2 separate regions of the Homo sapiens genome follow, and region 1 is linked to region 2. The links are contacts of gene promoters, found by promoter capture Hi-C in blood cells and fetal thymus (Javierre and others, 2016). All regions are on one chromosome and are shown on one strand. Each heading gives the region's core, a stretch centred on a gene start or on the middle of the fragment in contact. The rest is flanking DNA. Distances are from core to core; before and after follow the strand shown.

Region 1 (6,357 bases), core at 1,380-3,879, 35 kb after region 2:
CCTTGGCCTCCCAAAGTGCTGGGATTACAGGTGTGAGCCACTGTGCCCGGCCCCCCAAATGCAAACTGTAACAAGACAGAAGCCTGTCTTCTCTCATCTGGAGCAAGAACAAAAGGTGTCCCTCTCAGGTGACTTGCTCTTTGAAGCTCCACTCACCAGCGGCCAGGTAAGGTCTGTTGACCGCAGGCTGTTGCTCTGAATAATACTGGGGGCCATCAGTGAGGGAGGCAGTACCTGTGAAGGTTGGGGGCCCCTGCCTACCTCCTGAGGCACATGTGGGAGGCTAGATCTGCTGGGCAGGGGCTGGTGAGCTCAGGTACATCCCAGCAAGACCCATGTCACCTTGGCAAATCCCTGCCCCATCCCGTCCCGTCCCGTCCCATCCCATCCCATCCCTTCTGTTGCCCAGGCTGGAGTGTAGTGGTATGATCTCCACTCACTGCAACCTTCGCCTTCTGGGTTCAAGCCATTCTCAAGCTTCACCCTCCCGAGTAGCTGGGATTACAGGCATGTACCACCACACCCAGCTATTTTTTGCATCTTCTGTAGAGATGGGGTTTCATCACGTTGGCCAGGCTGGTCTCGCACTCCTGACCTCAGGTTATCTGCCCGCCACCACCTCCTAAAGTGCTGGGATTACAGGTGTGAGCCACTGTGCCTGGCTGGTTTATAACTGTTGATATACAGGTTATGCATCCCAGCCACAAGGAACAATTAGCTCCCTGTTTCCTGAACACTGCCCTCTCCACCCTGAGTCCCCTCCCTCCCTATGGGTTCACACCTCCTACAGAAGCCCAGTCTTTCTGGAGTTCACTCTGAACCTCCTCCCTTATTAGTCTCCAAGTCTGGCTCTCCACACCAACTGGGCACCCCCTCAGGGCTGACCCCATGCCCAGCCTCCATCATTACAGCATTGCATGTTCGCTGAACTGAATTGAAACACTCTCCCCAATTTACAGATGGGGAAACTGAGGTCAAAATGTTTAGGCCAGGCACGGTGGCTCACAGCTGTAATCCCAGCACTTTGGGAGGCTGAGGTGGGAAGATCATCTGAAGCCAAGAGTTTAAGACCAGCCTGGACCCCAACATAATGAGACCCCATCTCTATAAAAAACACAAAAAATTAGCCGGGCATGGTGCATGCCCGTAGTCCCAGCTACTCTGGAGGCTGAGGCAGGAGGATCATTTGAGCCTGGGAGTTTGAGGCTGCAGTGAGCTGTAATCACACCACTGCACTCCAGCCTGGGTGACAGAGTGAGACCCCTTCTCTAAAAAAAGGTTCACTCACTTCTCAAAGATTATGGATACCAAGACAGTTGAGGGGTGGTAATGTTAACTTAGTAAGTTCATTCATTCATTCAACAAATATTACTGGATGTCTACCCTCTGCCAAGCATTGCACTGGGTCCCTTAGGGGATAGGAACAAGATCGTATGTGGCACTTCTCTCCCGCAGAACAGTGGTCTCACCATACAGACCACAACCTCCCCCAACACCCACATTCCTGCACTCAAGGGAAAAGCAGGGACATTTAAGCTGTGCTTTGAAGGGGGAATATGATTTGTCAAACAGAGAAAGGGGGCAGGGCAGGACTGGTAGAACGGCCAGCTAGGTCAAAGGCATCCAGGCGAGCTTATCAAGGGGGGACAGAGGGAAACCAAGCCACAGAAGCCAACCGCAGCCTGGGCATGGACAGGGGCTGGGGCTTGGTCACTGTTTAGTTCCTGAGCTGTCACTTGGCATCTGCCTCTCCACGCAGGAGGGGACCTGGCAGCTGCCTCAACTCCTCTGAAATAGCAGTACATGCATCCTGTCCTGGGGAGGGTTCATTTGTATCTTGGAAGCTGATCACCATGAGATCCTTTTTTTTTTTTCTTTTGGGACGGAGTCTCGCTCTGTCACCCAGGCTGAAGGGCCGTGGCTTGATCATGACTCACTGCAGCCTCGACCTCCTGGGCTCCAGCGATCCTCCCACCCCAGCCTCCCCAGTAGCTGGGACCGCAGGCGCGCGCCCAGCTAATTTTTGTATTTTTTGTAGAGACGAAGGTTACGTTGCCCAGGTTGTTCTCGGACTCTTGGCCTCAGGCGATCTGCACGCCTTGGCTTCCTGAAGTGCTGGGATTACAGGCGTGAGACACTGCCCAGGCTATGAGATCCTTGATAACCATGAGACCCTGTGCCACAGTTCCCCACCCACGCTGGCCCCAACACAGACCTGAAGTTTTCGCCCCAGCTGCACTGTCCCCCTCCTCATCCTTTCTGTCCAGCGCCAACAGCATCTCACCTTCCCAAGCTGCCGTCCTTCCCAATGACCAGAGACATCTTTGCAAGCATAGCATGGCTGGAGGATGCGTTTCACCAAACGCGATGTAAGCACCACCAGGTGCCCAGCGCGGAGGTGGATGTGGGCGAACCCTGGACGCCCCACAAAGGACAGCTGCGGCCTGGGAAGGGAAGGAGATGGAGCGGGGAGAGGGGGAAGAGGTTGCTCCGCGTTTTCCGCCCGCCCGCCTGCTTTCCGCGAGGCACTGAGGCCTGAAAACCGCGAGGCCGCCCACGCGCGCCTGACCCGCCCCCCCCTCCCGCCCGCCCCAGGCCCCGCCCTCCCGCGCCCGCCCCTGCGCCGGCCCCTTTTGTTCCCTCCCGGAGCCGGGCCGCTGGCTCCGCTGGCTCCGCTGGCTCCGCGGGCGCTCAGCTCGGCTCGGCCGCGGGGCGCGCAGGCGGCTGCTGGGCGGCCTCGGTGCGCGCCTCCCGCCTTCCCAGAGACGTGGCGCGAGGCCCGGGCCCTGAGCACCTATCGCGGGGATCCCCGGCGCCAGGAGGGGGTGCAGCCGGTGGGCAGCGCCGCGCAGGGAGGGGCCGCAGCATCCTCGCCCCCCAGCGCGCCCGGGCCCGAGAGGAGGAGGCCGGGGCTCTCCGGGCCTCCCGCCGCTTAGCCTGATGCTGGAAGGACGAAGGTAGGGGCTGCTGGAGGGGCCGAGGGAGGGGGTCGCGCGGGCAACAAAGGACGGAGAGATGCGGGGGGCGGCGGCCTGGCCGAAAGCGGGGCTGCGGGCCCGGAGGCATTGTCGGGGCGTGGGCGGGGGCGGGAGGGTTCGAGGCCGGCCGGTGGGCGTGGGCGGGAGCTGGCTGGGGTGTGCCCCAACTTCCCCGTTGCTTGTAGGAGAGGAGGGGGCACTGCTTGGGGTGCCAGGGTTGGGGGCTATTCCCGGGCTGCGGGTCCCCCTGTTGAAGGCATCACCAGCCTCATCGGGGTCCCTACCCTCGGACGGGGGTTTGGCCCTTCTGTTGGAGGGTCGCCCGTACCCCCTTCCAAGGGCAGAGCAAGACGGCTGGACGCGCCGCAGGGCTCTCTGGGCTCACAGAGCCTGGGGAGCACAGCCTGGTGGGCGCGGCCATGCAGCCCCCATCTCCAAACCTGGGGTCTGGGAGAACAGGGACTGCCCCCCTCTCCTCCCTGCTACACCCTCTGGGGTCGCCTGGCCGATGGCCTTTGCAAAACTTGGTTGAAGTGCTTGGCTGAGGTGGGGTAGGAGGAGATTGAGGCGGGCGGCTTCTCTCAGGGGGTGTCCCCCCAAGCTGGCGCTGGTGGCTGGTGAGGCAGCAGATTTTCTGCCCTCCTCCCGGGGAGGGGCGGCGGCCGCGGAGGATGCTTGGCTGAACCTTCAGGGCCCGCCCGTTTGGACCTTTCAGGCAGAGCTTGGGCCGAGCGGGTGCCCACTGGGCACTGCCACGCAGGCCCCAGCCCCACCCTGGGAAGGACGGGCAGAGGGAGCACCTTGGGGGGAAATCACCCACCCAGCAGTGTGTCCCCCAACGTCTGAGACCCCTCCTCTCACTTCTGGGTGAGAAGTGGGGGTCTGGGATGAGGGGGTCTGCCGTCACTCTTGCGCGATGCCTGAGGGAGGTGGGTGGGGTGGCCTAGGGCTGTGGGCAGAGGAGGAGGAGGGTGCGGGGAGCACCACGTGTGTGCTTCAGAAGCCTCTTCCCTTTCGGTTGTAAATGTAAACAATAAGCCCTTCATTCAGCTGCTGTTACCTGGCCTGGCACTTCTAGGGGCTGGCTGGTCCACAGGACAGCAGCCTCGGTGTCCCCAAAAAGTGCAGCCCCGGGGGTTGATGAGTGCATTAGTGGGGAAGCTGGGGGCATAGAGGGGGTCCCCTGGAGGATGGGGCAGACCAGGAAGCTTCATAGAGCATCTTGCAGAAGTTTGCTGCCAGGTTGCCTGAAGGGGGTTTCGTGCAGGAGAAATAGCGTGAATAAGGGCTTGGAGTCAGAAAAGGAGGCTATTGGGTTAGAGAAACAGCTTAGGATTTAAGGAACTTAGACCTGCGTTGAGCACAGGATGCATTCTTGTCTGCAGTGCCTTGCGGGGGAATGATGGGATTCTGGCTTCAGGACAGGTGGAGGCGGTGGAGATGGAGAGGGGCTCCAAAGGCAGAAGAGGCAGGTGGAGGCGCCTGGGAGGAGCCTCCTCCACACACACCTGTGTGCACCTGCAAACTCCAGCCCTCAGCACCGTGCAGGCTGGGAAGGTGGTGCCTGGAATTCTGCACTCAGAGCCCAAAGTCCCAGCAGGGGGAATTTACTCCAAGGAGCAGTAATCGCTTTCCGGCATCTGCTGTCTACCTTGGCGGTGAAGAGTTCAGATGCTGGAGCTTAACAGCCCGGGTTCAAATCCCAGCTCTGCCACTCCCTAGCTATGTGACCTTGCACATTGCATCTCTCTCTGCCTCGACATCCTCATCTGTAAAATTGGGATCCTTATGGTATCTGGCTTTTAGGGTTGTTAGGAGAACTGTGTGCCCTGTGACAGAGTAGATGTCCTATAAGTGTTGTTGCTGCCGTACAGAGTGGCTTCCTGGCCCCACTCACACACGTTTCAGGGAGAGGAGGCTCGTGCCCCTTCCAGGCTGTTTGTCCTTCTTCAGCACCCTTGCTGGTTAGCCCTGACCCGGCACCTGCTGTTCTCTGCCTCACTGCAGCCTCCTCCCTGGTCCTGCCTCCCTTGGTGATAGAAAGGCCATCTCCCCACAGCCCCAGTTGTCCCTGCTCCCCACCTGGCAGGCCTGCCCACGTGTGGTCCCCCAGTTCCCTCTTGGCCTCCCCTCCTGGCCCTGCCACCCTGACAGTTGATCCTGCCCTCTTTTTTTTTTTTTTTTTTGAAATGGAGTTTCACTCTTGTTGCCCAGACTTGAGTGCAATGGCGCGATCTTGGCTCACTGTAACCTCTGCCTCCTGGGTTCAAGCAATTCTGCCTCAGCCTCCCAAGTAGTTGGGATTACAGGCATGTGCCACCATGTCCGGCTAATTTTAGTATTTTTAGTAGAGACGGGGTTTCACCATGTTGGCCAGGCTGGTTTTGAACTCCTGACCTCAGGTGATCCACCTGCCTCAGGCTCCCAAAGTGCTGGTATTACAGGCGTGAGCCACTGCACCCAGCCAGTTCTGCCCTCTTGACACCACCTGCTCTACCTCCACTTCCATACACAGGGGAGGGAAGCTGCATTTGTGACCCTCAGATTCCCTGCTCATTGGTTCTTGTGAGAACTTCAGCTTTTGTGCAGGTTGAAAAAAAAAGTATATATTAAGTGCTTACTTTGTGGAGAATTGTTCTGAGCTTTTTTGAGACAGCATCTTGCTCTGTCGCCCAGGCTGGAGTGCAGTGGTGCCACCTCGGCTCACTGCAACCTCCACCTCCCAGATTCAAGTGATTCTCCTGCCTCAGCTTCTCGAATAGCTGGGACTACAGGCCCATGCCACCAAGACTGGCTAATTTTTTGTAGTTTTAGTAGAGGCAGGGTTTCACCATGTTGATCAAGCTGGTCTCAAACTCCTGACCTCAAGTGATCCGCCCACCTTGACCTCCCAAATTGCTGGGATTACAGGCGTGAGCCACCACGCCTGGCCTGGTTCTGAGCTCTTTAAATTCATTCCTTCATTTGTGGATATTTTAATAAGGTTGCCTACATTTTACAGATAAGAATATCCTGGCACAAAGAGGTGGCTGTGTCTGCCCTTGATGGATTTGCTAAGCACCTACTGTATGCCTGGGAGGCATGCTTCCTTCGGCCACACCATTCTACCCACCCTCTTCGGGTTCATGTCCCTGAACAATTATGATTCTGCCTTCTCAGACACCTATCCCTTTTGCTCAGGTGCAAAGTCCAAACACGCTATCTAGCTTTTAGGGTCCGCCCCCAGTTGGCTGTATCTTTCCACTGCAGCTCTCCCCATGCTCCCAGGCTGGGCACACCCAGGCTTGCCTCACCTAAGGCTGACGTGGCCCCTTTAATAAACTGTGAGGAGTGGGCATGGTTTGAGGAGCAGGGCTGGCTTTGAGGGTGGTGTGGGGGT
Region 2 (6,038 bases), core at 1,076-3,575:
GGGCGACAGAGGGAGGCTCCATCTCAAAAAAAAAAAAAAAAAAAAAAAAAAAGGCCAGGTGTGGTGGCTCACGCCTGTAATCCCAGCACTTTGGGAGGCCGAGGCGGGAGGATCATGAGGTCAGGAGATTGAGACCATCCTGGCTAACACGGTGAAACCCCGTCTCTACTAAAAATACAAAAAATTAGCTGGGTGTGGTGGTGGGCACCTGTAGTCCCAGCTACTGGGGAGGCTGAGGCAGGAGAATGGCATGAACCCGGGAGGCGGAGCTTGCAGTGAGCGGAGATCGCACCACTGCACTCCAGCCTGGGCGACAGAGCGAGACTCTGTCTCAAAAAAAAAAAAAGCCACTCACCTCTAGCCTGCTCACGGTGTCTTCATTCCCGACAATTTCATTCAGCTTTACTGGCCTATATTTTTCAACCCTGTTAAGAAAATGCATAAAAATGCTGACATGGTTATCTTCACACTACCCCACAAAAAGCACCTAAGGGTTATCCTGAGAGCTTTGTTAAAAAATTACATACATTCAGTACAACTATGCCAAATGGTTGCAAGTTTTAAATGTAATAAGATGACAGCCAGGCGCAGTGGCTCACACCTGTAATCCTAGCACTTTGTGAGGCTGAGGCGGGTGGATCAATTGAGGTCAGGAGTTTGAGCCCAGTCTGGCCAACATGGTGAAACCTCATCTCTACTTAAAATACAAAAATTAGCTGGATGTGGTGGTGTGCGTCTGTAATCCCAGCTACTTGGGAGGCTAAGGCACAGTAGCTCGAACCTGGGAGGCAGAAGTTGCAGTGAGCTGAGATCATGCATGCCACTATACTCCAGCCCGGGCTACAGAGTGAGACTCTGTTTCAAAAATAAATAATAAATAAATAAAATGTAATAAGATGCCCAAGTGCCATTTGAAAAGTTAAAGGCATGAGAATTGTACAGCATAGGCTTCAAACCTGCCACAGCAGAGAAACACCTGTTGCTGCTGGAGCACGGCCAGCACAGGTCATCTGGAGCAATGTGACACTGTGCTGCAACCCTGTCCGCCCGTCACAAGAGGCCCAGCACATACAGCACTGACATCATTTGGTGTGACAACATGGGTGCAACCAAGCTCCTTTCTCATCCCTTACCTGCCAGTTTCTTTTCTTTTTTTTTTTTTTGGAGACAGAGTTTTGCTCTTGTTGCCCAGGCTGGAGTGCAATGGTGCGATCTTGGGTCACTACCAACCTCAGGTGATCTGCCCACCTCAGCCTCCCAAAGTGCTGGGATTACTGGCGTGAGCCACCATGCCAGGCAAGGATTACCTGCCAGTTTCTGCAGACGTGTGCCAAATACACAGCATAGCTGGCTAGACACCGTAGGCCTAGGCTGGGTACAGTGGCTCATGCCTGTAATCCCAGCACTTTGGGAAGGCGAGGCGGACGGATCACTTGAGATCAGGACTTCGAGACCAGCCTGGCCAACATGGTGAAACCCAGCCTCTACTAAAAACACAAAATTAGCAGGGTGTGATGGTACATGCCTGTAATCCCAGCTACTAGGAAGGCTGAGGCAGAATTGATTGAACCAGGGAGATGCAGGTTGTAGTGAGCAGAAATCACACCACTGCACTCCAGCCTGTGTGACAAAGTGTGACTCCATCTAAAAAAAAAAAATTAACTGGGCATGGTGGTGCGTGCCTGTAGTCCCATCTACTTAGGAGGCTGAGGCAGGGGGATCACTTGAGCCAAGGAGCTGGACATCAGCCTGGGCAACACAGCAAAACCCCCGTCTTGATTTTTTTAAAAAAATTTCAAATGTAAATGTTATTGAACCTAACAGTCAAAATATTATTTTCAACATGTAATCGATATTTTTTTTAAAAGATTGAAGTTTTTGAAAACACTAGGTCATACACTACTATACACAAAAACTTTTGAAAAAACCAACTAGGTCAGAGTAGGTGGCCACCCGGGGTAGCCCTAATTGTCATAAGCATTGTAGTGAGCGAGACTCCGCTCGCAGAGTTTAGACCGGCCACTCTCGATCCATGTCCGTCGCCTTCTTGAAATCATCTCGATGCCACCCGGGGCCTCCTCCTCCCTCGGGATTCCCCAAAACGAGCCCCTGACCCCCGAGTTTCTCCGGAGCACGGCCCGCCACTCGCCCACCCTCACGTCCAAACGCGCCCATTCTTTACGGCCTGGGACCTCACCACGGCAGTTCGTAGTGGCCGGCGCTGCCGGGGGCCTTGCTGAAGGCAGGGGCAGGGTCAGAGTCCTGGGCCTCCACCTCGCCCGCGCCACCACAGACGGCCTCCACCTCCATTCTCGCGCCTCCTCTTCCCGCCACCCGAGGCACCGCCCCTTGACGCCGCCACGCAAGCCCCGCCCCCTGGCTTCCGCCGGGCGCGAGCGGAAGTTACGTACCCGCGCCTCTCTGTGCCTGCGAAGAGGGTTCCGGTGGTGCCCTGGCGGCCATCGCTGGAGGCCGCGGTTGCTATGGGAGACCTGGCGCCCGGCCTGGGAGCGACAGGAAGGCGAGCTGTGGCCGCGACGCCTTCCGAGAAAGCAGGTCGCTCTCGGAACGGACGTTTGTGTGTGGTTTCTGTGGAAGATCCGCTCCGCGGCGGCGTGGGAGGAGCAGGGCCTGGAGGGGTTGCGGCCAAACGCGGGCTTCGGTGTTGGGACACGGACAACGCTGGCGTCCGGGCGCTGCTGGGCAGCGGGGTCCGGGGATGACGTCTGGGGCTGCCCGTGCCCACTTTTCCAGATTGCTCTGAATGTCCTAGTGAGCTGCTCCCGTTGGGTAGGCTCCTGCGCCTCAACCGCGCTCGGTACTCGACGTTTATTATCAGGGAATTCTCGGCTGCAAGATGGGAATTCCACCCCCACCCCATTTTGCAGAGGAGGAAACTGAAACCGTCCTTTTGTCAGATGAAATGCAATGTTCATTCCAGGAAAATAGGGACTCAAGGCCGGTGCGGTGGCTCACCCCTCTAATCCCAGCACTTTGGGGGACAGAGACCGGAAGAGCGATTAAGCCCAGGAGTTCGAGACCAGCCTGGGCAACAAAGTGAGATCCCCGTCTCTACAAAAATAAAAATTAAAAAAGTAGCCGGGCGTGGTGGCGCGCACCTGCAGTTCCAGCTACTCAGGAAGCTGAGGCGGAGGAGTGCTTGAGCCCAGGAGGTGCAGGCTGCAGTGATCTCTGATCACACCACTGCACTCCAACCTGGTCTGCAGCAAGACCCTGTCTCAAAAAAGAAAAAGTAAATACTTCAACCTTGCAAGGGTTTTGAGCATTCTTATGGGCTGTTTTTCTACCCAATCTTTCCTCCCATAGCCCAAATTGTCATAATATTCAATAATGATGATCCCAGAACTTTGGGAGGCTAAGGTGGGAGGATCCCTCAAGCCGAGGAGTTTGAGACCAGCCTGGGCAACATGGTGAGACCCCATCTCTACAAAAAAAATTTTTTAAATTATCCAGTTGTGGTGGTACGCGACAGTAGTCCCAGTTACTCGGGAGGCTGAGGCAGGAGAATCGGTTGAGCCCATGAGGTTGAAGCCACAGTGAACCATGATCAAGTCAATGTACTCCAGCCCCGGGGGACAGAGTGAAATCCTGTTTCTAAAAAAATAAGAAGAAAAGAAAGTAGGTACTTCAGATTCACAAGTGCTTTGACCATTCTTTGTTTTGTTTCTTGTTTTTTGTTTTTGAGATGGAGTCTCACTCTGTCACCCAGACTGGAGTACAGTGGTGTGATCTCAGCTCACTGCAATGTCAGGCTCCCAGGTTCAAGTGATTCTCCTGCCTCAACCTCCCGAGTAGCTGGGACTACAAGCGTGTGCCACCACACCTGGCTAATACTTGTATTTTCAGTAGAGATGGGGTTTCGCCACGTTGACCAGGCTGGTCTCAAACTCCTGACTTCAAGTGATCCGCTTGCCTCAGCCTCCCAAAGTGCTGGGATTACAGGTGTGAGCCACCGCGTCTGGCCAAGCAGTTGGTTTTAACGATAGTATTAACGTATACAGATTCACAACTTAACACAGTGTTTTTCTTTCCATGTAATTTGGAAAAAATGTTTGAATTGGCCATCTCTCCCCTATTCCCCCTTTAAACTGATGGAGCGGTCTTGTCTGTTTTTTCAATCATTATTCACAGGTCTTTTATTTTTCCGGAGGAGAAAATACACACTCCTCTTGAAATATACACTTTTCTTGAAATGTCTCCGCGGTTTTTCCATAGGATTGTTCCTTTGTAATCTTCATGTTTTCCTTGTAATCACTATGACACACATCCCTCCCATCACATAACACAGTTTAGAAACTAATTTTTAATAAGTACAGAACACGGTTCCTTTCATAATTCTCCAAAAACCCCCACTCTACAGGAGGCCTTTTGGCGCTGCTAGGGCTCTCCTCTAACTGATGGAATGCCAGGAGAACCAGAGATGGAGGTGACTCTTAGGGCAAAGCTGCACTGTCAGGACATTTCTTTTTTTTAGACTGAGCCTTTTGTGACCTATTGGACTTGGGCCCAAACAGAGCTCAGAACTTAAAAACTCCAGCCGCTCCCCTGGGACTGAAAAACAGCAATGTTGGGGAACCAGGGAGTGCTGGGGAAACCACAGGCTCTTGTGAAAGGGCATAGAGTAGCCACGGAGAATTCCTCCCAGCAAATCCTTCAAATCTCAGGAAATTAAATACACACTGAGGCTAAGCTCCCAGACTGTCATCACAAGAGGGCAAGGCAGTTATACACCAAGAGGAAGCATGTAGAAAGGAAATAAAATTGAAACCAAAATCCTCTTTCCCCAAATCCAGAGGCTTCCAATCAAATTGTCAGAGAAGTCAGGCAACACATCTTAGTTTGAATGACACCTTGACTTTCACCGTTAGCTTACTTCCTGAGTTATGTTGCAGGATGTAAGGCTGAAAATCTGCTGGCGTGCCAAGATCAGGACTACAGGATAGCCTGGTTTTCTCTCTGCCCACTCCAGCCTCCATTGGCCCAGAATGTCATGCACACTTGATGCTGTTTGCCTTGTTTACATTGAATTTTAAAAGTTCATTATCTTAGTCTGGGCCTGGTGGCTCATGCCAGTAATCTCAGCACTTTGGGAGGCCCAGGCGGGAGGATCGCTTGAGACCAGGCGTTTGAGCCCAACCTGGGCAATGTAGCAAGACTCCTATCTCTATAAAAAAAAGAAAATTTAGGCCAGGTCGGTGGCTCACGCCTGTAATCCCAGCACTGTGGGAGGCCGAGGAGGGCCGATCACGAGGTCAGGAGTTCAAGACCAGCCTGGCCAGCATGGTGAAACCCCATCTGTAGTAAAAATACAAAAATTAGCTGGGCAACAAGAGCGAAACTCCATCTCAAAAAAAAAAAAAGAAAATTTATTATTTGTTTTCAAGTGGATTTCTTTGTGATTTTAAGCTATTTTTTGTTTTTGTTTTTATTTTTTTTTTATTTTGAGATGGAGTTTCGATCTTGTTACCCAGGCTGGAGTACAATGGCATGATCTCGGCTCACTGCAACTTCCGCATCCCGGGCTCAAGCAATTCTTCTGGCTCATCCTCCCATGTAGCTGGGATTACAGGCATGTGCCACCACACCCAGCTAATTTTGTATTTTTAGTAGAGACGGTGTTTCACCATGTTGGTCAGGCTGGTCTCAAACTCCCGACCTCAGGTGATCCGCCCACCTCAGCCTCCCAAAGTGCTGGGATTACAGGCGTGAGCCACCATGCCCAGCCTTTATTTATTTTTTGAGATGGGGTCTCACTCCGTCACCCAGGCTGGAGCACAGTGGCATGATATCGGCTCACTGCAACTTCTGCCTCCTAGGTTGAATAGATTTTCCTGTCTCAGCCTCCAGAGTAGCTGGGATTACAGGTGCATGCCACCATGCCCGGCTAATTTTTGTATTTTTAGTAGAGACAGGGTTTCACCATGTTGGCCAGGCTGGTCTCGAACTCCTGGGCTCAAGTGATCCACCTACCTCTGCCTCCCATAGTGCTGGGATTACAGGTGGGAGCCATCGCACCT

What was found. Contacts are between HindIII fragments. The CHiCAGO score rates a contact against its expected background, and 5 or more counts as called.
Region 1: a contact is called between the fragment with the promoter of CLIP2 here and the fragment with the promoter of RFC2 in region 2, in 2 of 17 cell types (fetal thymus and naive CD8 T cells). The highest score is 6.2, in fetal thymus.

Annotation. Positions count from the first base shown.
Region 1 is chr7:74,286,778-74,293,134 of GRCh38, forward strand. It overlaps CLIP2 (CAP-Gly domain containing linker protein 2), which reads left to right and starts at 2,630. Exons shown (of 17, transcript NM_003388.5): 1 at 2,630-2,957. LOC107986742 (a long non-coding RNA gene) reads right to left here and starts at 2,530. Exons shown (of 2, transcript XR_001745024.2): 1 at 2,285-2,530. RefSeq lists silencers at 2,549-3,018, 3,039-3,108 and enhancers at 2,984-3,628, 3,629-4,272. The HindIII fragment of the contact is 3,709 bases long and covers 476-4,184 here.
Region 2 is chr7:74,252,074-74,258,111 of GRCh38, forward strand. RFC2 (replication factor C subunit 2) reads right to left here and starts at 2,326. Exons shown (of 11, transcript NM_181471.3): 1 at 2,198-2,326; 2 at 356-425. The coding sequence starts at 2,310. RefSeq lists enhancers at 1,358-1,960, 1,961-2,563, 2,000-2,229, 2,564-3,166, 2,640-2,719 and 2 more and a silencer at 2,280-2,399. The HindIII fragment of the contact is 11,375 bases long and covers 1-6,038 here.